Linked DNA regions of Homo sapiens: regions 2, 3, 4, 5, 6 and 7 are each linked to region 1. The links are contacts of gene promoters, found by promoter capture Hi-C in blood cells and fetal thymus (Javierre and others, 2016). All regions are on one chromosome and are shown on one strand. Each heading gives the region's core, a stretch centred on a gene start or on the middle of the fragment in contact. The rest is flanking DNA. Distances are from core to core; before and after follow the strand shown.

Region 1 (4,294 bases), core at 1,219-3,718:
CTCACACACACACACACACACACAAAGCAGACCAACTTTTAGTCGGTTTTATGATTGCTTTTAAACTCCCTACTTTAAAAGCACGGCCTTGCGTTTGTGCCCCCTGCATGGAACCTTATGAATAGCTTCTGCTTCCTCCAACACCACTTGAGTCTTGAGGCCCATTCATCAGTGCAGTGCTTCCCTGCCCAGGTCTTAGCAGAATCAATTCCTCGGAAAGGTCAGATGGGAAGAGAAAGAAGAGAAAAGCCCAGTAAGTCCTCTGGAACCCAAGTCAAGCTCCACCTCCTCCAGGAAGCCTTTCCTAATGTCCCTGCTCCTAACTGGGTCTCCCTTACCTGCGCAAAGGAAGAGGTGGTATCCTCTCATGAGGCATGGTGGGGAGGGCCGCCTGGTTGCTTTTGGTCGACCTTTGAAGGTCTTCCTTGCTCACCTGCAGTGGCAATGGCTATTTCACTATTTGGTAAACTCTGTTTATATACCTCAAGTCGACCACCAAGCCTGGCTTCTCCTGCCCCACTGCTCTGGCCCCTTCTTCCTCTTAATGTAAGATATGGAGGAAGAAAAGTTGGTGGGCACGTGATTCTGTGCTGGGCAGGCTGTGGTGGGAGGGATGGGGCGGAGGTAGAAGACACTTCATCAGTGTGTCTGAAAACATGCCCAAGACTCGTTCTGCTGGGTGAGTTCCCCAGGGGTCACTTGCCTTCTCATAGGAAGAAGCAAAATGTCCTGCTCCAGGCAATTCAGAGTTACGGCCACTTTTCCCTCCAAGCTGGGTGAGCATCTTGTTTTAAGATCGTTTTTCTAAGCCAAAATTTCTTATTTTTATTCATGCATGGGTCGCAGCCAGTCTACAAGTGTGGGGATATGTGTTGGGGGTTGGGGTGGTGCAGGCATGGAGGAGCTTCTGGCTTACCAGGAGAAGATGGGAGAATCACTGGCCCAGCCAGGGAAGGATGGGTATTTCCTTCAGCCTCCCTCTCTCAGGCCCTGGAGCATCCTCCCTGCCTGAATCTGATGGCTGAGATAGGCCCACTTATGACTAATCATTCCAGACTCCTCACTTCTATGGCACCTGCACAAACTATGTGCTCAGTAAAGAGTTGTTTGGATAAAGGAATGAGCCAACCAGTCCATCTTGGTGGATGATGAGGGGCTTTCTGCCTTCAGTCAGATGAACTTGAGCCAGCCTGAGAGAATGATCTTACCCAGATCTTCCTCCAAACCGTGTGATCCAGCCCTTCCCCAGCAGCAGGCTGCCCTTCCCTCGAGAGCCCCAAGGCCAGGTGTTGAGAGAAAAGCATGTCTAGGGCCTGGGAGAACCAGAATGAGCTGTAGGCCCCGTGGCCCGGGGCTTTCCTGTGTATGCTAAAAAGTGAGCTCTAAACCAGTCTCCTGGTTTCCACTTCCCCAGGCTTGGTGCTCCTGAGTTTCCTGGTATAGCTCTTCTCCTCCCCGTTGCAGCTGGATCCTGGAAGCCCTCAACAGTGTCTGAATTGCAAGGTGATGGCCAAATACACTAAACCAAAGATATTCCTAAACTTTGCCAAACCCTGCGTCTCTCAACTTCCTTCTCTCCATTCTATTTCCTTCCAATGCCCAGCAAAATGGTTGGTACCTTAATGCCAAGACTTTCATTCTAACCCTTAGACACTCCATAGGTCCCCACAGAACACTGTGCTATTAAGCACTTGATGTGGATTCAACCATATACTCATGAATGTCTGATTTTGTTCTGGGAGGTTTCCCTCCCAGAGGGAAATGCTCAGAGTCCCAGAATTTTCAATGACCAGGGTCCCAGAAGTGGCAAGGAGCTTTGGCCTTTGGAAAAGACCCATCTAGTTTGTTGTTTGTTTTTAGGGTTTGAATCTTCTCTTGCTCTGTGAATGATACGGGATAAGTTGCATTGTCTCTTCTGCCTCAGTTTCCTGTCTCTTTCTCTGGTTTTAACACAAACGTTAATATACTAGATAATGAACATATCTAGATCCACACATCCTGGATTTTCTAGGACAACTCCGATTTCAAATACTTTGTCCACATTGTCAAATCCTGTGTCTGATCCTATAATCTAATTTGGGATAAGAAAATATGGTCTTGAGAGTACTTTGAATTCTTCATTTCAGCAGTGGGCTAGAATGTTATTTACTAATATGTAAATAAAAACCATTCTGATTCTGGGCACTGGTCCGGAATGTGTAATTCTGGCCCAGCAGGAACGCAGCTGTGTTGCTGGAGGCCCTTCCTGGGAAGGCTCTGACAGAGCCTCTCCTTCAGCCCTAGGTCCCCATGTCTCACCCACCCCTGGGCACTGGAGAGAAAAGGGGCCTACTCACCTGCACAGAGTGTCCACAACACAGGCCACATCTTCCCCACCATGGTCTTGCTTCTTCTCTGCCCTAAACCTAACCTGTCACTGGCAGCCTCCAGACAGGTCTGAGCTGTCTGGTTAAAGCTACAGCAGCTTCTGGCCTGGCCCAACTGGAGGTCCCTGCAATTTTCCCTCTTCTCACCCACCTCTGCCCAGCCTCAGCTGGATTGGCAGGTGAGCTCCTCAGCTGGATTGGCAGGTGAGCTGGGGCTGGGCTCATGTGTCACCTACTCCAAAGGTCCCAAGAGGAGTCTTCCCTACTTCCCTCAAGTTCCCCTTAAACCAGCCACCTCCCCTGCCTTCTCCCTACTTAACAAGTGTACAAAGTCCTAGACTGCTCACAAAGGGGTAGGCCTCTCTTATAACTGACAGGAAATAAATAATAAAAAGGGAAATGCACTCAGAGGTAGGGTTCCAAGCTAGTAAAAGAAGGGTGTTGCCCATATTTGCTGAAACACTTCAAGACACAATGTGATCTGTTTCTCTACTTCTCTCCTCTTCTACAGCCTCCACCCCACAGTGCGCAAGAGATATAGTCATGAAGAAAACAGGAAGTCTCCCCCTTCAGAGTTTATATTCTGACTGGGAAAGTAGCAAGTTCATAAGTGAAAGAAGATCATCTTGGGGACATGTGACCAACTTGTCTCACTTTTCCTAGGACTGTCCTGGTTTTCAAACCAAAAGGAACCCCCTCAGTCCCAAGCAAATTTGGATGATGGTCACCCTACTGAAAGAATGATCAGTGGTGTGGGACCATAATTCTCCAGGAGCAGTGGCTGTTGCTGGTTTCTTCCATAGATATTTTAGATATATATACACTGTTCTGCAATGATTTATTCATTTTTCATTTAATGAAAGGTTTTAGAAAGCTTTCTGTATCGGTATGTATAGCACCACCACCATCATCTTTTTAAAATGGGGATGATATTTCACTGTATATGAGTGACATGATTTATTTAACCAAACTACTTTTAAGATTGTTTTTCCTCATCTTTCACAACTATGAAAAGATTGCAACCAATATCTATTATGTGTACGATATTTCACACGTGTTGTGATTATACATGTAAGATAAATTCTTAAAAGTAAAATTTCTGACTCACTGAAAGTTATGCATATTTGTAATTTTTATAGATATTGCTAAACTAGCTACCATGAGAATTTTACAGCCTACACTCCTATTAGCAGCATATAAGGATACCTATCTCCCCACACACTCACTAACACAGTTACCAAGTGTTTATGACACAGTTATCAAACTTTCTGCTCATCGCCAATCTAAGTGAACATGATATCCCATGTATATATAATTTACTTTTTAAAATTATTAGTGAAATTTGGCCAGGCGCGGTGGCTCACGCCTGTAATCACAGCACTTTGAGAGGCCAAGGTGGGCTGATCACGAGGTCAAGAGATCGAGGCCATCCTGGCTAACACGGTGAAACCCCGCCTCTACTAAAAATACAAAACATTAGCCAGGTGTGGTGGTGTGCGCCTGTAATCCCAGCTACTTGGGAGGCTGAGGCAGGAGAATGGTGAACTCGGGAGGCAGAGCTTGCAGTGAGCCAAGATGGTGCCACTGCACTCCAGCCTGGGCGACAGAGCAAGACTCTGTCTCAAAAAAAAAAATTATTAGTGAAATTGAAAATCTTTTAATATAGTTGCACATCATATATATTTTCTTTTCTGAGACTAGGTAGCTCATTTGCCCGTATTTCTTTTTTTAATAAATTTTTAAAAATATAGACACAGAATCTCGCTACGTTGACCAGGCTGGTCTTGAATTCCTGGGCTCAAGCAATCCTGCCTCAGTCTCCCAAAATGCTGGGATTACAGGCATGAGCCACCACGTCCAGCCGTTTGGCCATATTTCTATTGAGCTGTTGATCTTTAGCTTGTTGACTTCTAGCAGATCTTTGTATA
Region 2 (4,294 bases), core at 1,570-4,069, 440 kb after region 1:
TGCTCCATTAGAGTATTCTGTCTTCCTCGCCATTGTAACTGATTAGGGGAAGAACATATTAATGCAGGGATGTTTTTGTAGGCCTGGCATCAAGACCCCCATCTTCTAGCAATAGTATCAATTTTGCTTTGAAGAGTCAACTATTCTCCACGATTATAATCTCTTTTTTTTTTTTTTTAATGGAATCTCTCTCTGTCGCCCAGGCTGGAGTGCAGTGGTGCAATCTCGGCTCACTGCAATCTCCACCTCCCAGGTTCAAGCAATTCTCTGCCTCAGCCTCCTGAGTAGCTGGGATTACAGGTGCCTGCCACCACTCCCAGCTAATTTTTATATTTTTAGTAGAGACGGGGTTTCATCATATTGGTCAGGCTGGTCTCGAACTCCTGACTTCAGGTGATCTGCCTGCCTTGGCCTCCCAAAGTGCTGGGATTACAGGCGTGAGCCACCGTGCCGGCCGATTATAATCGCTTGATGAGGCTATCAGGTAATGTCAATCAGCTGCTTTCTCCCCGGACTTTAAATCTTAACAGAATGAAACAAGACCTGGACATAACCCTTGTTTGTTTCTCCTTCTTGGATCCATCCCAGAAGTTGCTCATATTCTGTGGCTACACGAACACTGTTCCAGCCAATTTCCTTTTTTGCTTAAGCTATCCAGAGCTGATTTTTGTTGCTTGCAACCAAAGGATCCTGACTTACACAGTAGAATTTTTGGAAGTTGTATTAGCTTTCTATTGCTGCATAACAAACTATCACAAATGTAGTGGCTTAAAACAACACATTTATGATCTTACAGTAATGTAGGTCAGAAGTCCTGATATAGCATGGCTGAGTTCTCTGCTCAGGTACTTACAAGGCTGAAATCAGTGTTGGCTGGGGCTGCAGTTCTCATTTGAGGCTCAGGGTCTTCTTCCAGGCTCATTGGTTGTTGGTAAATTTTATTTCCTCTCAGTTATAGGAGTGAGTTCCTGTTTTCCTGCTAATGATTGGCCAGGGAATGCTCTCAGGTCCCAGAAAACACCTGCAGTTCCTTGCCAGGTGGCCCCCATAGGCAGTTCACAATGTGGATGTTTGCTTGCTTCTGGCCCAAACACAGAGCATCTCTCTGACTTAGTCTTCTGGAACCAGCTGGAGAAAACTCTGATTTTAGAGGATATGCCTGATCAGGTCAGGCCCACCCAGAACACTCTCCCTTTGCCACATAAAACCGCAAAAGCACAGGAGTGATAGCTCATCGTATTCACAGGTTCTTCTTACGATCACGAAGATTGTACCATGGCGTGTCAATCTTGGAGGCCACCTTAGGATCCCATTTCTCACAGAAATGCTGTTCAAAAAGATGCTCCCTTCTTCCTCTGGGAAGATCAGACACGCCTGGTGTTCATCTTTTTCACCAGATGGAAGAAGCTTGCCTGGGAATGAAGCCAACACAGAGAACAGCTGAGCAAGAGACATAAAGACAGGCAGAGCATTTGCTGCATTGTTGAGAACCTGGATCGTGCCATGCCTAGCTGCCTGTCCCAGGGGCTTTTCCATCTCACGAGCCAATAGCTTTTTTCTTAAGTTATTTGACTTTGATTCTGCAACTTGGAATTGAAATGGTCTTGAGTATTACAGATGCTGAAATTGCATGGCTATTAAAGACATGTTTGCAAACTTCACAGCTGGCACAAATCCACTTTGATGGGAGATTTACCTAGTGCGCCCTACCCCTCAAAAGACTAATTGCCCTTTAAAAAATTAACCGCACAATTTTGGGGCTTTTTTTTAGTGAGACACTAAGGAGGAAAAACACACCTAATGTCCAAACACTCCAGAAAAAAAAAAATGAAAGTAAAAGGCTGCACAAAGATTTTCTATCAAAAGCCACTGTGAAAGATGGCAAAAAAAATAAGCTGGGGACATGGGTAAGATTAGAGAGATACTATGAATGGATAAGATGAATTGCAGTTGACCCTTGAATGACTCAGGAGTTAGGGCTGCTGAACCCCATGAAGTAAAAAAAATCTGCGTATAACTTTTGATTCTCCAAAAACTTAACTACTAATAGCCTACTGTTGACCAGAAGCCTTACTAACAACATAGTCAACTAACACCTATTTTGTATGCTGTATGTATTATATACTGTGTTCTAACAGGAGAGTAAGCTAAAGCAAGGAGAATGTTATTAAGAATATCATAAGTACGAGAAAATGCATTTACTATTTATTAAGTGGAAGTGGATCATCATGAAGGTCTTTCTCTTTTTTTTTTTTTTTTTTTTGAGACATAGTCTCACTCTGTTGCCCAGGCTGGAATGCAGTGGAGTGATCTCAGTTCACTGCAACCTCCTCCTCCCTGGTTCAAGCAATTCTCCTGCCTCAGCCTCCTGAGTAGCTGGGATTACAGGTGCCCACGACCATGCCCCGCTAATTTTTTGTATTTGTAGTAGAGACGGAGGTTTCACCATGTTGGCCAGGTTGGTCTCAAACTCCTGAATTCAGGTCATCCTCCTGCCTCAGCCTCCCAAAGTGCTGGGATTATAGGCATGAGCCACTGTGCCTGGCCATCACAAAGGTCTTCATCCTCATTGTCTTCACATTGAGTAGGCTGAGGAGAAGGAAGAGGAGGGTTGCTCTTGCCATCTCAGGGGTGGCACAGGTAGAAGAAAATCCATGCATAAGTGGACCCATGCAGTTCAAACTCATGTTGCTCAAGGGTCAACTATAGTTATATATAACCTACTAAATATTGCTATTGATAGCCAAGCCCCTTTAATTGGAAAAAGAACCTTTTTTGCTTTAATGGGGGTGTCTTACATTTGTGTGTCATTTTCACATATTAATATATTGTATTTTTTAAATTTATTTTTGAGACAGGGTTTTACTGTCACTCAGGCTAGAGTGCAGTGGTGCAGTCATAGCTCACTGCAGCCTTAAATTCCTGGGGCCAAGCTACCCTGTCGTCTCAGCCACTTGAGTAGCTGGGACTACGGGTGCACACACCACAATGCCCGGCCAATGTTTTAATTTTTTTTTAGTAGAGATAGGGGTCTCCCTGTGTTGCCCAGGCTGGTCTTGAACTCCTGGCCTTCACGGATCCTCCCACCTCGGCCTTCCAAAGTGCTGAGATTACAGATATGAGCCACCATGCCCAGCCATATTGTCTTTTTAATCTTGATGACTCAGTAAGGTTGTCAATATTGGTGTACCGTTTCCATTTTATTTATTTATTTATTTAAATTAAAAAAAAAAAATTTTTGAGATGGAGTTTTGCTCTTGTTGCCCAGGCTGGAGTGCAATGCCGCGATCTCGGCTCACTGCAACCTCCGCCTCCCAGGTCCAAGCGATTCTCCTGCCTCAGCCTCCTAAGTAGCCGGAATTACAGGCCCCCCACACCACAACCGGCTAATTTTTTGTATTTTTAGTAGAGATGGGGTTTCACCATGTTGGCCAGGCTGGTCTCAAACTCCGGCTGCCCCAGCTTCCCAAAGTGCTGGGATTACAAGAGTTAGCCACCATGCCCAGCCAGTTTCCATTTTGTAGTTTAGGAAACTTAAAATTAAGTTATTTTTCTAAGGTCACAAAGCTGGTAGAATCAAAACTAAAACTCAAGTTTTCTGGGTGCTGGTTCACAGTAGTGGAAGAACATGAGCTTTAGAACAGGTTAGACCTAGGTTCAAATTCCAAATTCCATCTACTAGCTGGCTGTATGTTTTGAACAAGTTAATAAATATCTGAAATCTTTTGTCCCACATTGGCTAACAATGCCTACTGTACTGTCTTGTTGGAGGAATGAGTAAGATGATGTAGGTTATGTGCCTAGTATATAGAAGGTGTTGGGAAATGTTACATCACAGAGAGGAGGAGAGGACTGTAAAATGTTTGCTGGCAACTGCTCTGGGAAAAATCCTTCCAGGAATGATTGGAACCCAGCATGGGGAATGGGGTCACTGTCTTGGTGGAAAGGGTGGGAGATGAAGAGGAGGAAAGAGGAGGTGGTGTGGACAAGCCCTCCTATGGGGAGGTGAGGGAGGCCCCACATTCCCAGAATAGGGACCTGTGTGCTTCCTCTTTTTATCCCTCCAAAGTTCTTGAGCACTAGGTCAGAATTTAATGCACCTGCCTCTCATTCGTTATGAATAGACAGTTGCAATTCCTGGGACTGTTGGAGGTGATGGGTTTATTCTCAGAAATCTTAAAAAGGCATTTTCTGGGCACCTGAGCAAACACAAAATTATCCTGTGGAATGAGCAAGCTTCGAACGCTGAGACCCTGGGGCATCTGAAGGACCAGCTAATAACCATGTGCTAAGC
Region 3 (4,294 bases), core at 581-3,080, 420 kb after region 1:
GGAAGAAGGAAGTTCAGGCTCTGAATTCTGAGAGCCAATACCTGTGGGGTGGGGTAAGGATCGGGGGCTGAGTCATTAAATGTTCTTTAAAACTTTGTAATTTCAAGACCACACACAACTCATTTTGTAGCTAAAAGGGATGTTCAATCCTCTCATAATTTATCTCACAGATGCTAAAACTAAAGCCTAGAGAGAAATTTCTGCCCAAGTATACACTGCAATGTAATGACAGAGGAAGAAAAAAAGCATGTCAGTCCAGTGTTCCCCCATTATTGCATTGGGAAAATGATATTCTATTTTGCAGATTGGGAAACTGAGGCACACATGCTAATGGTTCTGGCTTTCCAAGTGCCTTTTGTGTTTAGGCACTTCCGAATCAGATCTCCACTCCACAGTCCCCTGCGTGAAGAGGCACCATTGCCGCCATCTCACAGAGGAAGAACAGGGCTCTGAGGTCGGGAGGGGAAGGCGGCTCAGGACTTCTGGCTCCAGAGCCTCCTCTCCTTCCACCATAGTGCCTGCTCCAGAGGAGACACAAAGGCTTGGAGATGGTAACAGAGAGTTAGAGAAACATTTTCTTTCCTTGATGGGATTGTTTTCAACAGAAGTCTAGAGCATCCTGCAAAATGCTGTTTTACTTTAACCTATTCTTTCAAATGTCATTCCTGGATTTGCCCAAGAAAGTAACAAAAGCTACATATGTAAAGATTTTCTTGTAGGATTAGCTAAAATAACAAAAATCAGAAATAGTCCAAATGTACAACAATAAGGAAATAGTGAAGAAAATACGATGCATGGATGCTATGGAAGCTTACATAGCAATTAAAAACAATCACAAAGGCTAAACATGAAAACAATGCTTACAATAAAATATTAAGAAAAAAAGCACTTGAAACTTTTTAATGATATGTTTTATGTTTTGATTATGATATGACTTATGTTTTTATGTTAACTATAAAAAGATAGTAAAATTTTTTACACTTGTAAAAAATGTTGGATTGGAATATAAAGAAGTGAGAATGCAATATTATTGGGCTGGCTTGGTAGGAATTTTGAAAAAAATTTAATTAAATTTTAACTTCCGTCAGTGATTTTTATATCTTTACTAAAATATCTCAAACTAAGAGAACAGAAAAATGTTGGCTACCTGAAATATTTATTTAGTAACCTGGATCAAACCAGACTAATAGTAAGTATCTTGCTTTTTTTTCTTTCTATATTTTGAGGAAACTGGGTGATTGGATACTGTGGTTTATACTATAATCCAGTCTTTTGCTACCTGATGCCTTTCATTAGTTTATTTTTAGTTCATTAGTTAACAATCTCCAACAGTGTTAGCCTTGCTTATTTTCCGCTTTCCTCCGGTGTTAAAGCCTAATCAGAAAAAATGAGCATATTTCTTTATTTTTAGTTATAATGTTAGTTGAATCATATGAAATTATCCTTTTTGTAGATCTGAAATAAACAAATAGTGGAAATTTCATATGGTCCAACCAGAAAACTTTAATAATGGCAGGGTTTTATCTTAAACCATCCTTACAACTCATTTCAAATAATTCTAATCACTCAAACTGCCCTGTCCCCTCCACTGGTTTAATTTCTGGTTTTTGTTTTGTTTTTAAAATAACATTGTTTAATACTACGTTCTCTAGAGGAAAGGTCCAAACAATGCCAATTCAATATACCCACCAAATAAACCATTAAAGTTAATTTAATCGTATGAAAACATCTAGATTTCCTTCATTCACTCACCTTTTAATTCATTCAACAATTCTTATTTTATTTTATTTTATTTATTTTTTTGAGATGGAATCTTGCTCTGTCGCCCAGGCTGGAGTGCAGTGGTACGATCTCAGCTCACTGCAACCTCCGCCTCCCGGGTTCAAGGGATTCTCCTGCCTCAGCCTCCCAAGTAGTTGGGACTACAGGCACGTGCCACCATGCCCAGTTAATTTTTTGCATTTTTTAGTGGAGATGGGGTTTCACCACATTGGCCAGGCTGGTCTCAAATTCCTGACCTCAGGTGATCCACCCGTCTCGGCCTCCCAGAGTGCATTCAACAATTCTTATTGATAATTATTGCACATTGACTCTGCTCCAGGTACCATGCTAAGTGCTGGGTAGAGCTGTGAGCGTGACAGGGGCGTCTTTGTTTTCAGGGAACTTAAAGTTGTTTTTTAGACCGGAAGACATACTATGTACATGCGCTGACTAAAGCGATCATTTTGTTTTGATTAACAGGTCTAATGACCGGTTTAATTTTTTTTTTTAACCATATTGAATGTTTGTTCAAAGTGACGAACACCATCACTTTAGTGTTAATAAAAATTAGCCTTGGCCGAAGCAGAGCTAAGAAATTTATTTTGAACTATTTCCGGTATTTATTAAATCAATTATCTGACCTATATAAGGTCCTAAGCCTTAGATAAATAAGGCTTGGGAGAAACGATTCCCAAAGTGCGTGTTTGGACAACTCTAATCTAAGAGAGTTCCCTCAGGGCAACTGGACCCTTCTAAGTAAAGCACAAGACACAATGCTGGGTAACTTTTGACTGGAAAAGTATATATCCAACAATAATTACATGTATTTTTTTAAAGAACAAAAGCAAAAATACAAAGAATTTAAAATTAAATACAGCAGTGGTTATTCACCTAAGCCAGAGCTCCCCAGGACCGTTTCTGGGGGATGCTTAGCAGAAGCAGATGTGATCTCTAGGCTAGTAAGCCTGAGAAACGCTAAAATTGAAAAATGAAATAGCTCATTTGGATGAGCAGAGCTAGGCGATTGGAGGGCGAAACAATCTGATGGTGAAAATGCCATTGATGAAAAATTTGTACTGGTATCACTTAAAAGCTTGCCTCACATTCACCTCCCAGCAATTTTAGCAAAGATTTAGTGTTCAAGAAGTTTGCATTTAGATACTCAGTCGCTGTGCACCCACAATAGCCCTTTGGCTTCAGAATCTAGGTGGCCACCCGGACCAGTGATGACTGGGTGGATTTTGTTTCTGATTCCTTTCAAAGTAATACTTTGAAAAACTTTTGTCTATGAGCCTTATCTAAGATAGCTAAAATGTCAGTCTCCACAGAGGCAAAGTAAGTGGCACTGAGAAGTAAAAAAATCCAGCCAATCCCCCTGCCCCCTATTTGTGGAAATGGGGCACAGCCCCCATCTTGCATATATTTTTTCAGACATGTTTTTACTTCGGGAGAATATTCCCCTACAGAGTAAGTATCTTTAAAAAATGAAAATGGTGGATGTAACAGTCATCCTATGACCAGCCAGAGCTTTGCTGCTTTTTCACTATCGGGCCTACCTCTGCAATCATTGTTATGTTTCTGTGCTGGTATGGGTGTGCCCAGAAATCAGAAGAGGGATGAGTTGGATTGCAACAGATGGAGAAAATGCCCACTGCTGCTTTATAACATATTGAAAGCAAATGAAGAATCCCAGCCATGGGTTTCCATCTCCTGTTTTGAGAACAAGAAGACAGTCCGAGATGTAATAATAGTAATAGTAAATACAATGTTTACTTATTGGCTGTCTACTATGTATTGGACACATTACATTACTTCTCATTGTCACATCTCTGCAAAGAAGGTATTACAAGTCTTTCTTTAGAGGTGAGAAAACTGAGGCCCAGAGAGGTTAAGTAACTTGCCTAAGGTTGCACAGCTAGGAAGCGGCAGCACTGGGACACCACCTGAAATTAGCCTGGCTCTTTCTACCACGTCCAGCCACCTTCCTAAAAGCAGAGCCACTCACAAGCCTGGAAGCTTTGCATTCCCCAAGGCTGCATGTCAGAGCTCCATCTCCTCACTGATAAAAGACAAACACCACACTGACCGCTGGGTGCATTCTTGGCTACTGCAGAGTAGGGAGTTAGAGGCACTGAGGGCTCTGCAGGCACAAGTGTGCCCATGCCACTAGGCACGCCATCTTAGGATCTTCTGGCCTCAAGCCCTGGTGACTGTCTTGGTAGATTCTCTCTCAGGGAGGCCTCCTCATGTGGACAGACCAGGTCATCATTTGCTTTGATCCTAATAATCTGGGCATTTCCAAAGAAATGCAAATGCAACAGCTTAGTAAAAAGTAGACATTTTAAAAGGGATGTATGCAATGGGTCACTTAACTGAGCAAGAAAAGAGAGAAGACCTGACTGAAATTCTATGTGCGGCCTTTCCTCCGGGGAGACTGTGGAGGTGTCCCCTCAGGCAGCAAAAGCACCATCGCAGCCCTCGGTGTCAAGGCCTCTCTGAGTCGCGCTTTGCCTTACCGTACCTCGTTTCTGGG
Region 4 (4,294 bases), core at 864-3,363, 400 kb after region 1:
GGAGTTATGGTTTCATGGGTACAGAGTTTCAGTTTCGCAAAATGAAAAGAATTCTAGAGACGGATGGTGGTGATGGTTGCGCAACAATATGAATGTACTTGACATCACTCAACTGTGCGCTTAAACATGGCTAAGAGGGTAAATTTTATGTTATGTGTATTTTACCAGGCAAAAAAACAAACAAACAAAAAACCTGGAGGAAAAATTAGCAGCCTGTGCTATGAAAATTGCCTCAGGTGTAAGACAGTCTTGTCAGTATTGGAGCGTGCTCACAGTTGACATGTGTGAAGGACCAGGAGAGCCGGAAGAGGTCAGCAGGCTCAGGGGGTGCTGTTAGCCTGTTTCACCGACAGAAAGGCTTAACCCCTGCGGCGCCAACTAGACCAGGAGACCTTGCCTCTCTATTATTCTCCCACTGGCTGTTGCTTATTTTTGTTAGTCCAATATTTTCCACTGCTCTCAGAGACAAAGGTAGGCAACAGTTTGCAAAATTTAGACGCTTATGTGTGCACAAAGGAAAAAAAGAAGAAAGAAAGAAAACAACAGTCTGGTGAGCTTCTGTGAAGCTTCTTAACTAGCAGGGAGGGGAATTTTCCTTTCTGGTCACGTAGGCTGCTGTCTTCGGCTTCGATTCGTAAGCCACCTCCCAAGCCCCCATTAGCCCCAGGTAGGGGACATCCCATCCCCCTAAACCTCCTTCTTGAACTGACAGTTCACCCCTAGAAGGAGGTGGGAAACCACTCAGATCCATCTCAAAGGGATGCCTACCAGGGTAGGTGTGTGGGAGGAAGGCTGAGCCCATGCTGTGTTCAGGGGCCCCCCCAGAAGGTGTCAGCCTGGAGGAACATGCCCCACAGTTATAAAAGGCATCATTCCAGGAGCTATCATGGCGTCTGCTAGGGGCAGAGAGGAAGGGGAGGCAGGAAAGGGGCTGAGTATTTTGGGGCTGTATGCTTATTGTTCTACTTTTCTGTTGAAGTTATTGCAGTTGCTGCCCTCAAATTTTTCCTGCCTTTCTCCACCCCCAATTTTGCCCTATTTTCCCTAATTTTTCTCCTTTTTTTTTTTTTTTTTTTTTTTGAGATGGAGTGTCACTCTGTCGCCCAGGCTGGAGTGCAGTGGTGCGATCTCGGCTCACTGCAACTGCCACCTCCTGGGTTCAAGCTATTCTCCTGCCTCAGCCTCCTGAGTAGTTGGGATTACAGGTGTCCACCACTATGCCCAGCTAAGTTTTGCATTTTTAGTAGAGACAGGGCTTCACCATATTACCCAGGCTGGTCTCGAACTCCTGACTTCAGGCAATCCGCCAGCCTCGGCCTCCCAAAGTGCTAGGATTACAGGTGTGAGCCACCGCACCTGGCCAGTTTTTCTCCTTTTGTCCCATCTTCCTTTTTCCTTCTCCATCTGTTCCTTTCTGCTTCTCAGAATAAGCATCTCTATCCTTAGCTTCAAATCATAAACAACTTAGAAACAGTTACTTAGCTGAGTACTGTCTCTGTGCCAGGCCCTGTGCTGAGGGCTGACATTCATTGTATCTTTGGGTCCTCACAACAGCCATATGAGATAGGTGCTATTGTGCCCATTTTATAGTTGGGGATACTGAGGCTTAGGAAAGATAAAGTAACTTGTCCAAGATCACACAGCTGGAATGTGGCAGAGCTAGGATTTGAACCTTGACAGTCTGGCTAGAAGGGACCTTACTGATCATCTCTGTCCAAATCCTCCATAATGTACAGAAGAAAACAGGACCAGAGGCATCAAGTGACGTGTCCGAGGCCCCACAGCTAGTTAGGGGCAGTGCTGAGAACAAGAAGCTGGCCTCCTAATTCTGAGATTCTTCTTGTTTAAGAAGCATTTTCCATAGGTGGGCATCTGCTAGGCTTCTTTATCTAGAATTATTAATTCCAGGAAGCATGTGCCCTGGTCAGGCACAGAATCAGCAAAAACCCCACTGGAGACCCAAAATACCCTATATGCTCTCACCATTGCAGAATCTGTTGTGTCTGCAGGTGCAGCCTCCGGGACCCAGGACTTTCTTCTCAGGGCTCTGCTGAGTTGGGTGGGGGAGGCTGGAGGCTGCAAAATGATGACAGAGCTTGGGGCTATGATCTGGACTGGGTACCCAGAGCTAATAGGAGAAGAGGACAAGCAGGGGGACAGAACTGAGTCAGGAGACACTTTAGACGATGGAGGGTTGGGGGATGGAGGTGGCTAGTGAATAAAACACTTCTGAAGGGTCTTTGCTGCCTGTGTTGATGGCCATGATCAATTCGGATCCCCAGGGCCAGTTCAGCAAAACCTCTGTCAACAAATAGAGGATTTGTTTAATCTTTTCTGAAAGAGTCCGATGTTATCTAAGTGAGGACTGGCCAGGTAATTGGAACGTTCTAGAGACTGTTGGGTTGACTTGGATTTGGGGTCAATAAACATAGCGGCTCCACTACACTAGTGTGAGGAGGACCTCGGGAGAAATCGCATAGCTCCCTGGGCTGCAGTTTTCCCATCTGTGATATGGGGATAATGTCCTCACCCTGTCGACCTCATGGGGCTGCTGTGAGGGTCAGATGAGAAAATGGGTGGGGAGGTAATAATTAGTGAACAGCACCATTCAAAGCTACAGTGGTCTTATTGCTGTGTTTTCCTAATTGTATTTTGCACTGTGGCTTTACACAGCCCATGTCTCTGGATTGTTAAAAGGATCAAAAAAGATCATGAGTAGTGCATTCCTCGGCATTTTGTATCTCCTATAATTCCTGGATACAGATAAATGTTTATTAAAGAATGTGAAGGTCTCATCAAAAACCAAGCATGAGAGGCAAGACAATTATTACCTCAGATCACATACGCCTTGGATTTCAGAGCTGGAAAGAGGGTTAGAGACCTATTCCAGGACTTTACTCTACAGCAAAGCAGTCCGGGTTCCAGAGAGCCCAGGTGACTTGCCTTGGCTGGGCTGGACTCTGTTCTCTCCCCACCTGGACCTTGTGTCCGAGGAGCAGTGTTGGACCCTCAATTCAGACAAAGTGGGAAGGCAGATCCCAAGGAGGGGAGGGCTGGTGGCCCAGGTGGCTGCCTGGAAGATACCATCACTTCTCATGCTGTCTTAGGTGAACTTTCAAAGTCCAGCGTAAGAAAAAGTTTCCAGCAACAGCATTGTGGTTAGTATTGCAGGCTTTGGAGTGAGACAGTCCTGGGTTTAAATCTTGGCTGTCTACCTAGTATCTATGTGGTCTACGATATGTTACATAACCTCTCTAAGCCTCAGTTTCTTCAACTGTAAAATGAGGATATCCTGAGGTTGTTACCTTACAGTTTGCTGAGAGGAATAAATGCAATAATGGACGGGTGTGCTCACCCCAGAGCTTGGGACTGGGTAAATACTCATAAATGACAGAGGTGGGAGTAGTTGTTACAGTAACCTACCAGAGGGAAGAAGAGTGTGCTCCCGTTTAATCCTTATCACCTACGCAGTGCTTGGCATATAGGAGCGCAACAGATGTTTCTTGAACAAACATCACTAAGTAATGCCTACTTCTGCCCTTATTCCCCCTCAGCATGTTCCTTGCCCAGCTGCTAGAATGATCCTGCCAAAACATATAATCATGTATCTTTTCTGCTCCAAGTCCTTGACCTCCATCTCACTTAGAGCAAAATGTCCTTCAAGCTTGTTTGCAACTGTCACTCTCTCCCCAAACCCCCAGAACTCAATACGTCTGACCTCACCTCCTACTGGCCTTCCCCTCACTCATACCACCTCTTTGCAGTTCCAGGAACATGCCAGTCTGCACTGCCACCTCCGTCTTCTCCAGGTTCCCACTTGGCTTGCTCGCTCACTTCCTTCTGGGTTTGACTAGAATGCCACCATCTTAGCAAGGACATCCCTGCATACCCTACCCAAAACTGTATCCCCACACCACCAGCCTGACACTTCCTATGCACCTTCTCTGTGTTATTTTTCTTCTCAGCATGTATCACAACTATCTACATATTTTTCAGTTTACCTCGTTTATTGCCTGTCTCCGTCTTTAATTGTTAGTTCTATATGGGATCTGGGATTTTGTTGCTGCTGTGGTTCAGTTTGTTCATGATTGTTTCAAAAGCACCTAGACTGTTCCTGCTACATAGTAAATAATAAATATTGGTTGAATAAATAAATGAATGAATAGCATTAGTAGTGGTGTTTGTGTGTTTGTTCATTTTGTATGGCAAGAATTGTGAAATAAAGCAGAAGGAAGGAAGGTAGGTAGGTAGGCAGGTAGTGAGTTGCTCATCACAGTAGTGTTCCCAGAAGTCT
Region 5 (4,294 bases), core at 1,241-3,740, 360 kb after region 1:
TTTTAAGTGGAGTCTCACTCTGTTGCCCAGGCTGGAGTGCAATGGCATGACCTCAGCTCACTGCAACCTCTGCCTCCCAGGTTCAAGTGATTCTCCTGCCTCAGCCTCCCAAGTGGCTGGGATTACAGGTGCACACCACGATGCCCTGCTAATTTTTGTAATTTTAGTAGAGATGGGGTTTTGCCATGTTGGTCAGGCTGGTCTCAAACTCCTGACCTCAAGTGATCTGCCCGCCTCGGCCTCCCAAAGTGCTCGGATTACAGGCATGAGCCACCGTGCCTGGCCAAATATGATACTTCTTATGGGGTGAGGATAAAATAAAATAATTCTTATGGGGTGAAGGACCCCATAAGGGTATGTGTTCCATTTTGCCACCTATTGTTACTGCCATGATTTCTACTTTAAGCCCATGCACGATAAGTTGGAACCTTCCTGCCCTGTAGCAAGATCCCAGGAATAGGCCATGTGAGATGCTCAGAGGAGGCTGGGGGCAGCCAAAGATGATCACAGAGTATCTAGGCATACGGGTCATTGTATCTAAGTGTTGTGAGTCTAATTAGTGACAGTGAGCCTCGCCATCCCTTTGTAGCCTTTTGTCATCTTCATTAAAAAAAAAGCCCTGAATTCAGGAAGTCTCATGGTACTGACCACTAACAGGAAGATTCTGGAGCCCCAGAGTGCACCCTGGGGGAGACGCACCTATCCTTACAGAATCTGGTTTCTCTGGGTGAGATTTACTTGAATTGCGTTGTTTGTCTGTCTGTCTCTGAGCCAGACTATGAACTTCTGCTAACAGGGATCAGGCCTTAATCAACCTGGTCCTGCCATACCCTGAGGCTGAAAATACACGCTGGTGCCCTTTCCCCTGCAGTCAACCTCCTTCTCCAGCAAATCCTGTTTCGGAGCTGGGCATCTGCGGGACTTACTCACATCCAACTAATAAGGATTCTTCTCATTTGAACTCTAATTTCTACTTTTAAAGTGACTTCCTGTGTCTGATGGAGTTAGATTCTTATGAGTGCCAGGAGACAAACAGGGGGCTACTTTTGGGCCCAATTCACAGGTGGATAAACTGAGATCAGAGGAATGAAGCAACTTCACCAAGGACACCTGCAGGTTAGTGGCAAAGCTGGAAGGGAATTCCTGGGTCTCCTGACTCCAGGTACTTCTCTTAGCCTTATGGCTTCGATGCAGCTGACCTATGGGCTCAGGATCCGGAGTTTCCACCTACCTCTGATTTCACAGCCCTTGCCATTTTGCCCACTTTTGACACTTAGTCACAACGGCTTGTAAACGTTCCACTTCAAGTCCGCCCCCCACCACTGGCTCTGGCAAGCACAGATGGTGCCTTATAGTTTCATTTGCACCTTTCCCTCCTCACCCGCACATCACAGGCTTAGAGAAGAGCAAAGAACATAATAAGTCTTTGAGTCAGAAAGACTCTAAGACTCAAATGTGGAATCTGCCCCATTATTGGCTTGTTTTGGAACAGTTTTCTTAACCTCTCTGAGCGTCAATTCTCCTATCTGCAGAAGGGCTTTGACAAGACCGATTTCACGGGTGCAGAGAAATGAGGTAAAGTTTGTGGGGTGCCCTGCACAGTGGCGCATGCTAAGAGGCTCTGCAGGTACAAGGAGTGACAGCAGGGGATGGCCCTCTGACCTCCCACACCATCATGCCACGGTTGGGGACAGAACCTGGCCAGGTTTCCCAGCCCAGGATGGGGATACCCACTCTTCAGGGGTGTTTGAAGATAAAAACAGATAATGGGGGCCAGGCGCGGTGGCTCACGCCTATAATCCCAGCACTTTGGGAGGCCGAGGCGGGCGGATCATGAGGTCAGGAGATCGAGACCATCCTGGCTAACATGGTGAAACCCCGTCTCTACTAAAAAATACAAAAAAATTAGCCGGGCGTGGTGGCAGGCACCTGTGGTCCCAGCTGCTCAGGAGGCTGAGGCAGGAGAATGGTGTGAACCCAGGAGGTGGAGCTTGCAGTAAGCGGAGATTACGCCACTACACTCCAGCCTGGACAACAGAGTGGGACTCCGTCTCAAAAAAAATAAAAAGAGATAATGGGTGTGTACAAAGTGCCTGGCACACAGTGGGAGCTCAGTAGTGTGTAGACTTTCTGAGAACTCCTCACTTCACAAAATGATAATGATGTAACACATGCATGAAGCATACAGTTTAGAGAGCTCTTTGCACTTGCATGATCTGGCTTAATCCTCAGAACAACCTTGCACAATACGGGCAGAATTATTACCAATTCTATTTTGCAGATAATGACGTTGCAGCTCCAATAGGTCACATGGCTAGAGATTTTCTGAGTGCATCTGATGCAAAGTCCCTTCTCAATCTACCTTATCCCAGTGCCTCTGGGGTTCCTGTCATATAGAGAGCTTCCCACCTCTTTCAGGAGTTTCTTCTTTGGTAGGCACTTCTGGCCTCTGCTTGAATATCTCTGGTGACAGGAAGCTCAGCACCCAGCAATCACTGGTGGAGAGCTCTAATTTTCAGAGTTAAAAAAAAAACTTTGAACCTAGTTCTGCCTTCAGAAGCACAAATCACACAGATCCTCCAATTTCTATAGGGCAGCCTTTCAAACCTCACCCCCGTCCAGCTTGTTTCCACTTTGATAGGAAGCACGGCAGGTAAGAATGAATCCTACGAAGGCGACAACTGCAATCCAAGTCCTGGTGTTGCTACTGTGTAATCACTGAGTAATCACAGCGACCTCCCAGGGTGTGTGACACTCAAATGGGAAGGGCTTGGTACCTGGTAAGCGCTCAGTTTGTAGGCACTGATGGAATCAATATGAATCACAGTAGCTCATGATCCAGGTAGGAGTGGCCAGCTTTCTACTCGCCAACCTTCCTTCCTTTGAGTCCCCAACTTTGAGCCCTGAGTCCTGCTGCTGCCAGCTCCACCCCCAGGCTCAGGCACAACTGGTGATGACATTGCAGGGTAAAAACTTAGAAAACAGGAAGTCACTGTTCTTAGGAAGGCAGTGGCAGCAGCTATGGGTGGGGGGGTGGGGGCGGTGTCTGTGTTGGGCAGGGTGCTGGGTGTGATGCCGACCCATTGACCACAGCATCCAGGCACCCAGACCATCCCCCTCAGTGGGTTGCTCCCTTTCATCGAATAACTAACTTTCACTGCAGCAGAAAAGATATAGGCTAGACACACAGAGTAATAGTTATAACCACTGGTTGAAGATTTGTTCTGGGCCAGGAACCACACGTGTGAGTTTTCTCATTCAGTCTTCACAGTGACTCTGATTTCACAGCTAGGGAAACTGAGGCTCAGAGAAGTTAATAACATGCCTAATGTCTACAGCCAGGGTTGAATCCAGGCACATCTGGATCCACAGTCCAGGTCTTAACCACCACTTGGTACTGACCTTCAAAGACTTGCTGATCCTCAGAGGTGGTGAGAGGGGTCCTCACCAGGCTGTGGAGTCCCTTCTCCCAGGATCGAACCATTATAGCAGGTCATATTCTTGACTCTACAATTAGCTTTCTTTCATTGAGGGCTGAGAGGCCGGCCTGGGGGGTTGACAGATACAGAAGGCCTGCTACCAAATGTGAGGCCAGGACTCACACTGCCCAGTGCTTATAGCAATGACCCACTGGAGATACCTCAATCACCCTGAACTGCAGAACGACTCCAGCTAATTTACTGGCAACATATAATGTTTTACTACTCTCTTTAATTTGCTACCAGCCTGGCCAACAGGGTGAAACCACATCTCTACTAAAAATACAAAAAATTAGCTAGGTGTGGTGGCGGGCGCCTGTAATACCAGCTACTCAAGACGCTGAGGCAAAAGAATCGCTTGAACCCAGGAGGTGGAGGTTGCAGTGAGTTGAGATAGCACCACTGCACTCCAGCCTGGGCCATAGAGTGAGACTCTGTCTAAAAAAATAAATAAACAAAAATTTTTTTAAAAAGTACCACAGCCTCCTTAATTCTCTCCTCAGTGTCAGATTTCAAATATTCATGTTTCATTGTAAAATTGGATCATTTGTTCAAAACTACCTACAAATTATGTATTCCCATAGATAAGGGTTCCAAGGGAAGAGGGAAGAACAGGGCTGTATGATTTCTTAGGGGTAGCGCTTTATGAGCAAATGTTTCTCTTCTTGTATTTTTATTTCCATTAAAGTTGTTATGTTTTGAGCGATACTTTGTGATCATTTTTCTTTTCTTTTTTTTTTTTTTTTTTTTTGAGACAGAGTCTCGCTTTGTTGCCCAGGCTGGAGTGCAGTGGCATGATCTTGGCTGACTGCAAC
Region 6 (4,294 bases), core at 879-3,378, 340 kb after region 1:
AAAGGGCAGGCAAGCTGCTTACCACCTTCCAGGGTCCAGCACAGGTGCATGCCCCTAGCTTTGGCCCTCACAAACTTGTGAGCATGCCCTGAAACAAATTGGCATTTCAGATTTTCCAAAACAAAAGTCAAAAAACCCCATCACCACCATCATCCACCCTACACCAACCAGGGTCACTATGGGGACTTAGCACAGGGCCTAGGGAGGGTGGGAGCTGCTGCTGGACTGGCCCGAGGACTCCACAGAGTGGGGGACGTTGAAGACACTGGCGCACGATTGGCTGCTCTGCTGGGTGCTTTAACCTCTGGGGCTGGGCGAATGCACGCCACGGTGCCCTTCTGAGCCTTTTTTTCTTTTCCTGTACTGGAACTGCTTGGAAGTGGCTGTCCTGTTTGTGAGAAAACATGCAGAAAGATTATCAAGCTTTTCATTTCTCTTTATTGTAGTTTTCTTTCCTTTTTGCAGCACCACTGTGCAACTATGCATTGTACTTCACAACCTTTTGTGCTAGGTAGATGCCTGTGACTTTTTAACTTGGGGGGTGGGGGGATTGCAAATGAAGGAACTTTTTACATGGATCTTTTTAATCTCAGTTGGTTGGGGGAGGGGGGTACTTGGTTCTTGGGTCACACAAGCTCTATCCCAAAGCAAAATCCAAATGTTAATAATATTAGCCTGATGCAGATACCAAAGATAATTTCTTTCCTGCAGAACCTTAGACTCGTGTATTAAGTACGATTACCCAGCACTTGCATTAGTCTAACCTCAGTAATTCCAAAGCTTAGATGTATATTTTGGTATATTTCTGGGATATTAAAAAAAAAATGTCGTTTAACTTCTTGTTTGTTTCAGTGTAATGCTCTTAAAGTCATAGCATGAAAATAATTGAACTGTCCTATTCTTAGTAGTTTGAAATAATAGTATTTTTGTATGTTTTGGGTGTGTCTATGTATGTATTAACATAACAGTTTTCACTGCCTAGGTGTTCATAATAAAAAAGAAAATGAAAAAAGTTCTGAGTGTACATAATATTCAATAATAATCTCCCACCAGGTGTCAATTTAGATTGCATATTCCTCATTACTGTTCCCAACTGGGATTTTGTTTTCTTTTAAAGAGACAGTGATCGTGTTTTTCTAAAGATGTTTTCTTTCTCTCTTTCAATATCTTAACTCACTTTTTTTTTCTTCCTTTTTTGTCTTAATTATTAATTCAGGGGTGTTTGTCCACTGTTGTCAAAGGAGGGGCACAAGGGGAATTGGCCCCCGGCCTCCTAGAACTTTTTGTTTTATGTACTTTAAAATGTGAGTTTGAGTTCTTCTTTGTGGAAACTTAAGATGTGGTGTAAATGATTCTTTCCAAAATTGTCCAGCAGCTTGAATGAGGCAGTGACAATTCTGAGGTGGTTTATTGGGAGTCCTTCTACATTTCTCTTAGATAACTCTGCACTCTGGGTGGCTATTGTGTAGCCTTACTGCCCCAGAGTGCCTGTTAGCCAAATATTTCCCCTCTGATAGGAATATTTTCTAAGAATCAGCTGATAACTTGCGTGCTGGACCTTGTTATCTGTGCCCCTGGGAGACACACGTTTTCTTGGTTTTGAAAACCTGAAACACAGGCAACTTTACATTTTGGGGAATTAGCTGATGCCTCCTGAAGCCTGAGGAGGTGGCGGGGAATATGAGCGGTGCTGTCTCTCTCAAAAGTGCCCTTTAGATGATTCCCCCTCCTAGGGCTGCCTGCAGGGGCTGTAGGCTTGGGAAAGATTGTGTAGGTGACAGTGAATCAGAATGAAGTGGTAGATTTTGTGTAGATGCATTTGTCTGCTGTAATTTTTTATATATATATTAAACTTACTGTAACTGTACAGTTCATTTCTGTTGTAAAACATCATTAAACCATCTTCCAAGTGTTTTCACATTGTTGGAGTTTCTTTGAAATTGCTGTGTTGGTATTCTGGATGCTTCACATACAGATTCTCAGACTTCGCATAATTCAGCTTCCAAATTGTTTTTTCCAAGTGCTCTCAGGAACCCCAGAATCACCATAAGCACCCTGGTTCCTGCCCCACTCCACCCTTCCTCCTGCACTCCAGGAGGAGCTATGGCCACTGCATTTCTCCCTCCCAGACCCTCAGTGTGGTTTCGTGGGACCCTGAGTAGCAGTAGTCTCCCTCAGGCCCAAGTACTTTGTGTGATCAAACACGCAGGCCCATGATTGATCCTGCAAGGGAGCTCTTCAAAGCTCCATCTCACTGTGTATTTGACTGCAGAACTGGGACCGAACTCAACTTTTTCCAAATGTATTGTTTAAACTGCACTGCCCCTCTAGCATTTCTTGCCAAGTCCTGAACATTCACTGGGTGGGGGCCGGGTGGGGGGTCCTCCGAAGGAAGGTAACCCTGAACTTGGCATCTGGTCCTCCTCCTGTTCGAGGCTGCACAACTTAGCTTCTTCAGACTTATAAATACCACTTAGCATTTAGTGTCTTACTACAATTCATTCATTTCATGAAAAGTAAAGTTTGAATTTTAAAATGAATTCCCCACAGAGAGAAGGCTTCAGCTTACTGAAGAACCTGGGGAAGTTGTCTATCACGTGCTGGCCATCTGGCAGGCATTCTTGAATTAGATGATGTGGAGAGCCGTTGTCGCAAGATGTGCTCGCTCTCCTGGAAAGGGACCAAAATGGGAAGGCAAATGGTGGGTCCCTTTCTCCCTGCTCCTTTATCATAGAATTTATATTTTTCCATTCCATTCCTTAGATATATGGCTTATGTCTCAGTTTGTAGTTATTTTCTTAAAATAATGTCAAGTTTTTAACAGAAATCCTGTTTTTGAGATAGTGTCGTGCTCACAGACTTAGCAAGCAAAACTCGTTTGTCATATCCTAAGGAATGAGGATAAACAACTGATGAGATTCTGTTACCCTGTAGTCCTTTGTGAAAAAGTTGTTAAATTCTAACCCATTTCCAGGTTTGTATACAAAGCTGAATTACCTATGGCAGGATGTGAATAATATATGCCCTTACTCTTTTGTTTTTGGAGGGACTTACATCTCTCCAAAGACCCAGGTTGAAGTTAACAGGAAATCCGGTGTTAGGACTCAGTCATGGGTTCACAAAAGTAGTTGTTGATCAACAACTGAAATGTCCAGCACCAAGCAACCAAAACACATCACAAGTTATTCATGGACAGTTTGAGGCCTGTGGCTAAACAGTTGGCCAAATGACAAGGCTTTAAATCACCCCGGAAGTTGTCCTCTTAGCCTAAGTAGGTCATCTGCCATTTTTTCTCTGCCAAGCCAGGCTTTGCAGTTTTGAGTATTTCTCTGCTTATAGGAACATTTTAAACTAGAAACCTTGGATCTTATTCCAAGAATGACCTCAAATTATACTCTAAGAAGAAAAGCGATCAGAAATATTCATATCTTATCTCTGAGTTTAGTGACATTTGAATAAACGTTTGAAAAATATTGAAAGCTTCCATCTTTATATATAATGTGTTTCCTCAATACAAGTAAAATTCCATGTTTCCTTGATTCTAAGCATATCTTCACATTTTAACCCATGAAACAGATCTACATCTTACAATGGATATTTAGTGTTTTTGCCCTTGAAATAAGTTGATACATCAGTAACCAACAGTGTCTTAGGATGGAGGGAGTGCAGTTGTGCTGTGGAGAAGGCATTGCCAGACCTCAGGAAAGACAGGAACCCTGGCAGTTCCAGGGCTAGCCGCTCTCCCCTCGGATTCAGGGCTTTGCTCTCTCAGAAACTGGTTTCTCAGCCCTGCTTCTGTGAGCATATCTCAGTTCTCCCCCAGCTTGCTGTCTGTGTGGTTACCTTGCACGTAGCCTGATGTGGCCCACACCTCAGTTTAGCTCTAGCACCATAGCTCACTGCCCACTGCCAGCTTTTCTTTTTGCCTCTTTAGACATGTTATAAAAAAATTATATATATATATATATATTTTGAGATAGGGTCTCCTTCTGTTACCCAGGCTGGATTTCGGCTCACTGCAGCCTTGACCTCCTGTGCTCAAGCGATCCTCTAGCTTCAGCATCCCAAGTAGCGAGGAACACAGGCACATGCCGCCATGCCCAGCTGTATTTTTTTGTAGAGACGGGGTCCTCCTGTGTTGCCCAGGCTGGTCTCAAACTCCTGGGCTCAAAGGATTCTCCTGCCTCAGCCTCACAAAATGCTGGGATTACAGGCATGAGCCACCATGCCCAGAATGACATATTCTTGACAGAATTGGATCAACTCACTTTTCAAACCAGCCATCCAGGTCACA
Region 7 (4,294 bases), core at 477-2,976, 320 kb after region 1:
AAGGATTAAAATCATACAAAGTGTGTTGTCTGATGACAACTGAGATAAACTAGAAATTAACAATAGAAAGAAATTTGGGAAGTCCCCATGTATTTGAAAATTAAAACATGCATCAAAGAAGAAATAACATTTCTCCTCTATTTTCCTATCAGGCCGGTATTACCCAGATACCTAAGCTTAGATAAATAGCACAAGAAAAAAAAATTACAAACTCATATTCCTCGAGAAAATATAAACCAAAACTCTCAAAAGAATCTTAGCAAGTCAAATCCAGCAACATACTGAAAAAATCGAACGATTATATACATCATGGCCAAGGAGGATTTATCTCCCAGGAATGTATGGTTAGTACAATAACTGAACATCAATTAATGTAACACATTATAATAGTAGAAGAAAGGACAAAAACCACATAATCATCTCAGTGGATACAGAAAAGATATTTGTAAAAATCCAAAACCCATTCATGATGAAAGCTGAAATACAAAGGAACTGCCTCACCTGATAAAGAGCACTTACTAAAACTCTCCAGCAAATAGAATACTTAATGGCAAAAGACTGAATACTTTCCCCACTAAGATTGAGAATTAGGTAAGAGTGTTTGTTTGCTCTTGTGGACTTCTGATTAACATCGTCCTGGAGGTTATAGCCTCCAGTAAGGGGGAGAAAAAAAACGGAAGACAATTTGGAAAGGAAGAAGTTAAACTGCTTGTATTTGCATTATTCTATATGTATAAAAATACTAAGGAATTCACCAAAAAAAGGTATCTAGGACTAATCAATAAATTCAGTATTGTTGCAGAATACAAGATTGATATATAAAAAATAAATTACATTTGTATGTACTATCAATGGACAGTTCAAAAATGAAATTTAGGAAATAACTTGTATGTAACAGTATCAAAAGAATAAAATACTTAGGAATAAACTTAAAAGAAGTGTAAGACTTGAACAATGAAAACTACAATTTGCTGAAAGAAGTTAAAAGAAGTCTAAATAAAGAGACATTTCATATTCCATGTTCATGTTTTGGAAGACTAAGCATTCTTAAGATGACAGTTTTTCTCCAGCTTGAGATATATGTGCATCTCTCTTTCTCTCTGATTTCAAGGTTTATCCACATTATAGCATAAATATATATTTTTTTATTTTATTTATTTTATATATTTTATTATTATTATTATTTGTTTTCGAGACAGGGTATTGCCCTATCACAGTGGCGCAATCACATTTCACTGCAGCCTCAACTTCCCAGGCTCAAGCAGTCCTCCCACTTCAGCCTCCCCGGTAGCTGGGACTATAGCCACATGCCACCCGCCCAGCTAATATTTGTATTTTTTGTAGAGACGAGGTTTTGCCATATTGCCCAGGCTGGTCTCGAACTCCTGGGCTCAAGCAATTCACCCACCTTGGCCTCCCAAAGTGCTGGGATTACAGGCATGAGCCACCATGCTCAGTCTTCCAGCTTGATTTATAGATTCAACAAAATCATAGTAAAAATTCCAACAGGTTTTTTCTTTGTTTTGTTTTAAAGAAATCGATAAACTCTTGGAAGGGACCAAGAATAGCCAAAACAATTTTGAGAAAGAGTGAAATCAGAGGATTTTCATGTCCTAATTTCAAAGTTTACTGTAAAGCAACAATAATCAAAGCAGTGTATTACTGGTATACATATAGATATATAGATTAAATGGAACAAAATTAAGAGTCCAGAAGCAAAACTTTAAATTTATGCTTTATTGATTTTTGACAGAGGTGCCAAGGCAATTCAATAGGGAAAGGACAGTCTTCAACAAATGGTTCTAGGACAACTGGATATCCATATGCAGAAAGAGGAATAGAGGAATTTAGATCCTTACCTTACACCGTGCATAAAAATTAACTGAAATGGATCAAAGGCCTAAATATAAGAGCTGAAACTATAAAGTTGCTAGTAAATAAAGTAGGACAAAATCTTTGTGACCTTGGGTTAAGCACAGAGTTCATATACACAGCACCAAGAGAACGATCCATAAAAGAAAAAAAAATTAGTAAATTCAGCTTCATCAAAAGTAAAATCTTTTGTGCTTCAAAAGCCACAGACTGAGAGAAAACATTTGCAGATCACATATCCAATAAAGAAATTGTGTCTAGAATGTATAAACAACTCTTACAACTCAATAGTAAGAATATAAACAACTCAGATTTTTAAATGGACAAATGTTAGTAGACATTTTACCAAGGAAGATATAGGAGTGACTAGTAAGCACATGGAGAGATATGTGACATTAGCATTACTCATTAGGGAAGTGCAGATTAAAACTGTAATGAGATACTACTTTGTACTCACTAGAATGGCTATAATCAAAAAGACCCAAGATGATAAATGTTGGGAAGGATGTGGAGAAACTGGAACTTTCATGCATTGCTTGTAGGAATGTAGAATGATACAGCTTCGGAAAACATCTTGGCAGTTCTTTTAAACATAAATTTACCGTCCTACCCAGCAATTTCCCCAAGAGAAATGAAGACATTTCTACACAAAAACTTCAATGTGAATGTTTATATAGCAGCCTTATTTATAATATCCAAGAACTGGAAACAAACCAGTGCTCATCAACTGGTGAATGAATAAACAAAATGTGTTATATCTACACAGTGGAATATTATTCAGCCATAAAAATTAATGAGGTGTTGATTCGTGCTACAATGTGGATGAACCTTGAAAACAGAATGTTAAGTAAAAGAAGCCAGATGCAAGAGACTACATATTGTATGATTCCATTTGTGTGAAATGTCCACAAAAATCTAGAGACAAAAAGCAGATAACTAGGTAGGAGTGTGACATGATTACAAACAGGCACAAGGGATCTTTTTTGGGAGTGGAAATGTCATAATCTGGATTGTGATGATGGTTGTATAACTGTAAGTTGATTAAAAGTCATCAAATTTTAAAGCTGGATGAATTTTCATGTGCTTACTAGTCACTCCTATATCTTCCTTGTTAAAATGTCTACTAACATTTGTCCATTTAAAAATCTAAGTTGTTTATATTCTTACTATTGAGTTGTAAGAATTGTTTATACATTCTGACACAATTCCAGTTCCTTTATTGGATATGTGATCTGCAAATGTTTTCTCTCAGTCTGTGGCTTTTGAAGCGCAAAAGATTTTACTTTTGATGAAGTTGAGTTCACTGATTTTTCTTTTCTTTTATGGATCATTCTCTTGGTGCTGTGTCTGTGAACTCTTTGCTTAACCCAGGGTCACAAAGATTTTGTCCTACTTTATTTACTAGAAGCTTTATAGTTTCAGCTCTTATATTTAGGCCTTTGATCTGTTTTAGTTAATTTTTATGCACAGTGTAAGGTAAAGATCTAAATTCCTCTTTCTGCATATGGATATCCAGTTTATAAGTTGTATCTCAATAAAAGCTGTTTGAGAAAAGACAAGACAGGGCGGGAAGCACAGGGAAGTGCCAGGTACTATATACACACCTTGACTATAGCTTCCTACTGCCCCTGTGAGGTGGTTGGTGGTATCTTATTTTGCTGTTGAGGACATTGAGGCTCAGCAACAATAAGTTCACTAGTCAAAGTTACCCAAGTAATTAAATTGCCAAGTTGCCAAGAATTTACAGTCATGAAATACATATATTGATGAAAACATGACTCACTGACTGGGATAATTAATTTGAAGATAATTTTAAGTTGTTATACCATAATGCTTATTTATATAACATTTATATTGGAGACGCCTAGAACAATTTTGAATGCTTCTGGAGTCATCATCTTCTGGCCTAGGTTAAATTCACTGATAAAATTTGACTGGGATTTTCTTTGTAAACTTAAGGGATTTAAGAAAACAGTTGGTGAATGATTTGAAGGTGGCTGGAGAGTAAAGAAATAACTATTTTAAGCCTTTTGAGCTCAAGATATTAGGACTTATAAAAATAGGCAATTCAATTTCAGAACTTTGAAAGGGAAGTAGTACCCATAGGTAAAATCAGGTTAGATAAGGTGAGAAATTGGTCAAAAAAAGATTGAAAGTACATTGAAATTGCTTAGCATGGAAGAGAAATAAAAGATGTTCACCTTACTATGTGACAGGGGGCATGTCTTAAGAGAAGATTAAAGCGAAAAAGGGTATATGAATCTGCCTAACACAGGACCCTACACAGCATCCAGTGTTCAGTGGTTGATTGTTCTGAGAGATTTAGAACCAAAGAAGTAATGAACGAAAATAGGATTCATAGTATCTACAAAGATGTAATGATATTTAGGGGCAGTGGCAATAAAAATAAATCACTTATATT

The links. Contacts are between HindIII fragments. The CHiCAGO score rates a contact against its expected background, and 5 or more counts as called.
Region 2: a contact is called between a fragment that was not itself captured here and the fragment with the promoter of GPA33 in region 1, in 12 of 17 cell types (endothelial precursors, fetal thymus, total CD4 T cells and 9 more). The highest score is 8.8, in endothelial precursors.
Region 3: a contact is called between a fragment that was not itself captured here and the fragment with the promoter of GPA33 in region 1, in 7 of 17 cell types (endothelial precursors, naive CD4 T cells, erythroblasts and 4 more). The highest score is 10.9, in endothelial precursors.
Region 4: a contact is called between a fragment that was not itself captured here and the fragment with the promoter of GPA33 in region 1, in 4 of 17 cell types (endothelial precursors, naive CD4 T cells, naive B cells and 1 more). The highest score is 7.6, in endothelial precursors.
Region 5: a contact is called between a fragment that was not itself captured here and the fragment with the promoter of GPA33 in region 1, in 12 of 17 cell types (naive CD4 T cells, naive CD8 T cells, total B cells and 9 more). The highest score is 10.1, in naive CD4 T cells.
Region 6: a fragment that was not itself captured here is called in contact with the fragment with the promoter of GPA33 in region 1 in 2 of 17 cell types (naive CD4 T cells and endothelial precursors); the score reaches 6.1 in naive CD4 T cells.
Region 7: a fragment that was not itself captured here is called in contact with the fragment with the promoter of GPA33 in region 1 in 1 of 17 cell types (naive B cells); the score reaches 5.7 in naive B cells.

What each region holds. Positions count from the first base shown.
Region 1 is chr1:167,087,909-167,092,202 of GRCh38, forward strand. It overlaps GPA33 (glycoprotein A33), which reads right to left and starts at 2,469. Exons shown (of 7, transcript NM_005814.3): 1 at 2,337-2,469. The coding sequence starts at 2,379. LOC124904451 (a long non-coding RNA gene) reads left to right here and starts at 692. Exons shown (of 3, transcript XR_007066717.1): 1 at 692-776; 2 at 1,415-1,503; 3 at 2,878-3,473. RefSeq lists an enhancer at 2,495-2,644. The HindIII fragment of the contact is 4,295 bases long and covers 1-3,238 here.
Region 2 is chr1:167,528,844-167,533,137 of GRCh38, forward strand. LOC107985224 (a long non-coding RNA gene) reads right to left here. Exons shown (of 2, transcript XR_001738279.2): 2 at 696-1,412. It also overlaps the pseudogene AKR1D1P1. Among named protein-coding and RNA genes, the nearest start is that of CD247, 12 kb to the left of the region's middle. The HindIII fragment of the contact is 2,829 bases long and covers 1,406-4,234 here.
Region 3 is chr1:167,512,352-167,516,645 of GRCh38, forward strand. All of the region lies in intron 1 of CD247 (CD247 molecule), which reads right to left. Among named protein-coding and RNA genes, the nearest start is that of CD247, 4.0 kb to the right of the region's middle. The HindIII fragment of the contact is 2,044 bases long and covers 809-2,852 here.
Region 4 is chr1:167,491,981-167,496,274 of GRCh38, forward strand. All of the region lies in intron 1 of CD247 (CD247 molecule), which reads right to left. Among named protein-coding and RNA genes, the nearest start is that of CD247, 24 kb to the right of the region's middle. The HindIII fragment of the contact is 3,098 bases long and covers 565-3,662 here.
Region 5 is chr1:167,444,941-167,449,234 of GRCh38, forward strand. The region is part of intron 1 of CD247 (CD247 molecule); the gene reads right to left. Among named protein-coding and RNA genes, the nearest start is that of CD247, 71 kb to the right of the region's middle. The HindIII fragment of the contact is 5,276 bases long and covers 1-4,294 here.
Region 6 is chr1:167,425,423-167,429,716 of GRCh38, forward strand. It overlaps POU2F1 (POU class 2 homeobox 1), which reads left to right. Exons shown (of 16, transcript NM_002697.4): 16 at 1-1,918. Among named protein-coding and RNA genes, the nearest start is that of CD247, 91 kb to the right of the region's middle. RefSeq lists an enhancer at 1-768. The HindIII fragment of the contact is 2,700 bases long and covers 779-3,478 here.
Region 7 is chr1:167,405,871-167,410,164 of GRCh38, forward strand. All of the region lies in intron 13 of POU2F1 (POU class 2 homeobox 1), which reads left to right. Among named protein-coding and RNA genes, the nearest start is that of CD247, 110 kb to the right of the region's middle. The HindIII fragment of the contact is 3,104 bases long and covers 175-3,278 here.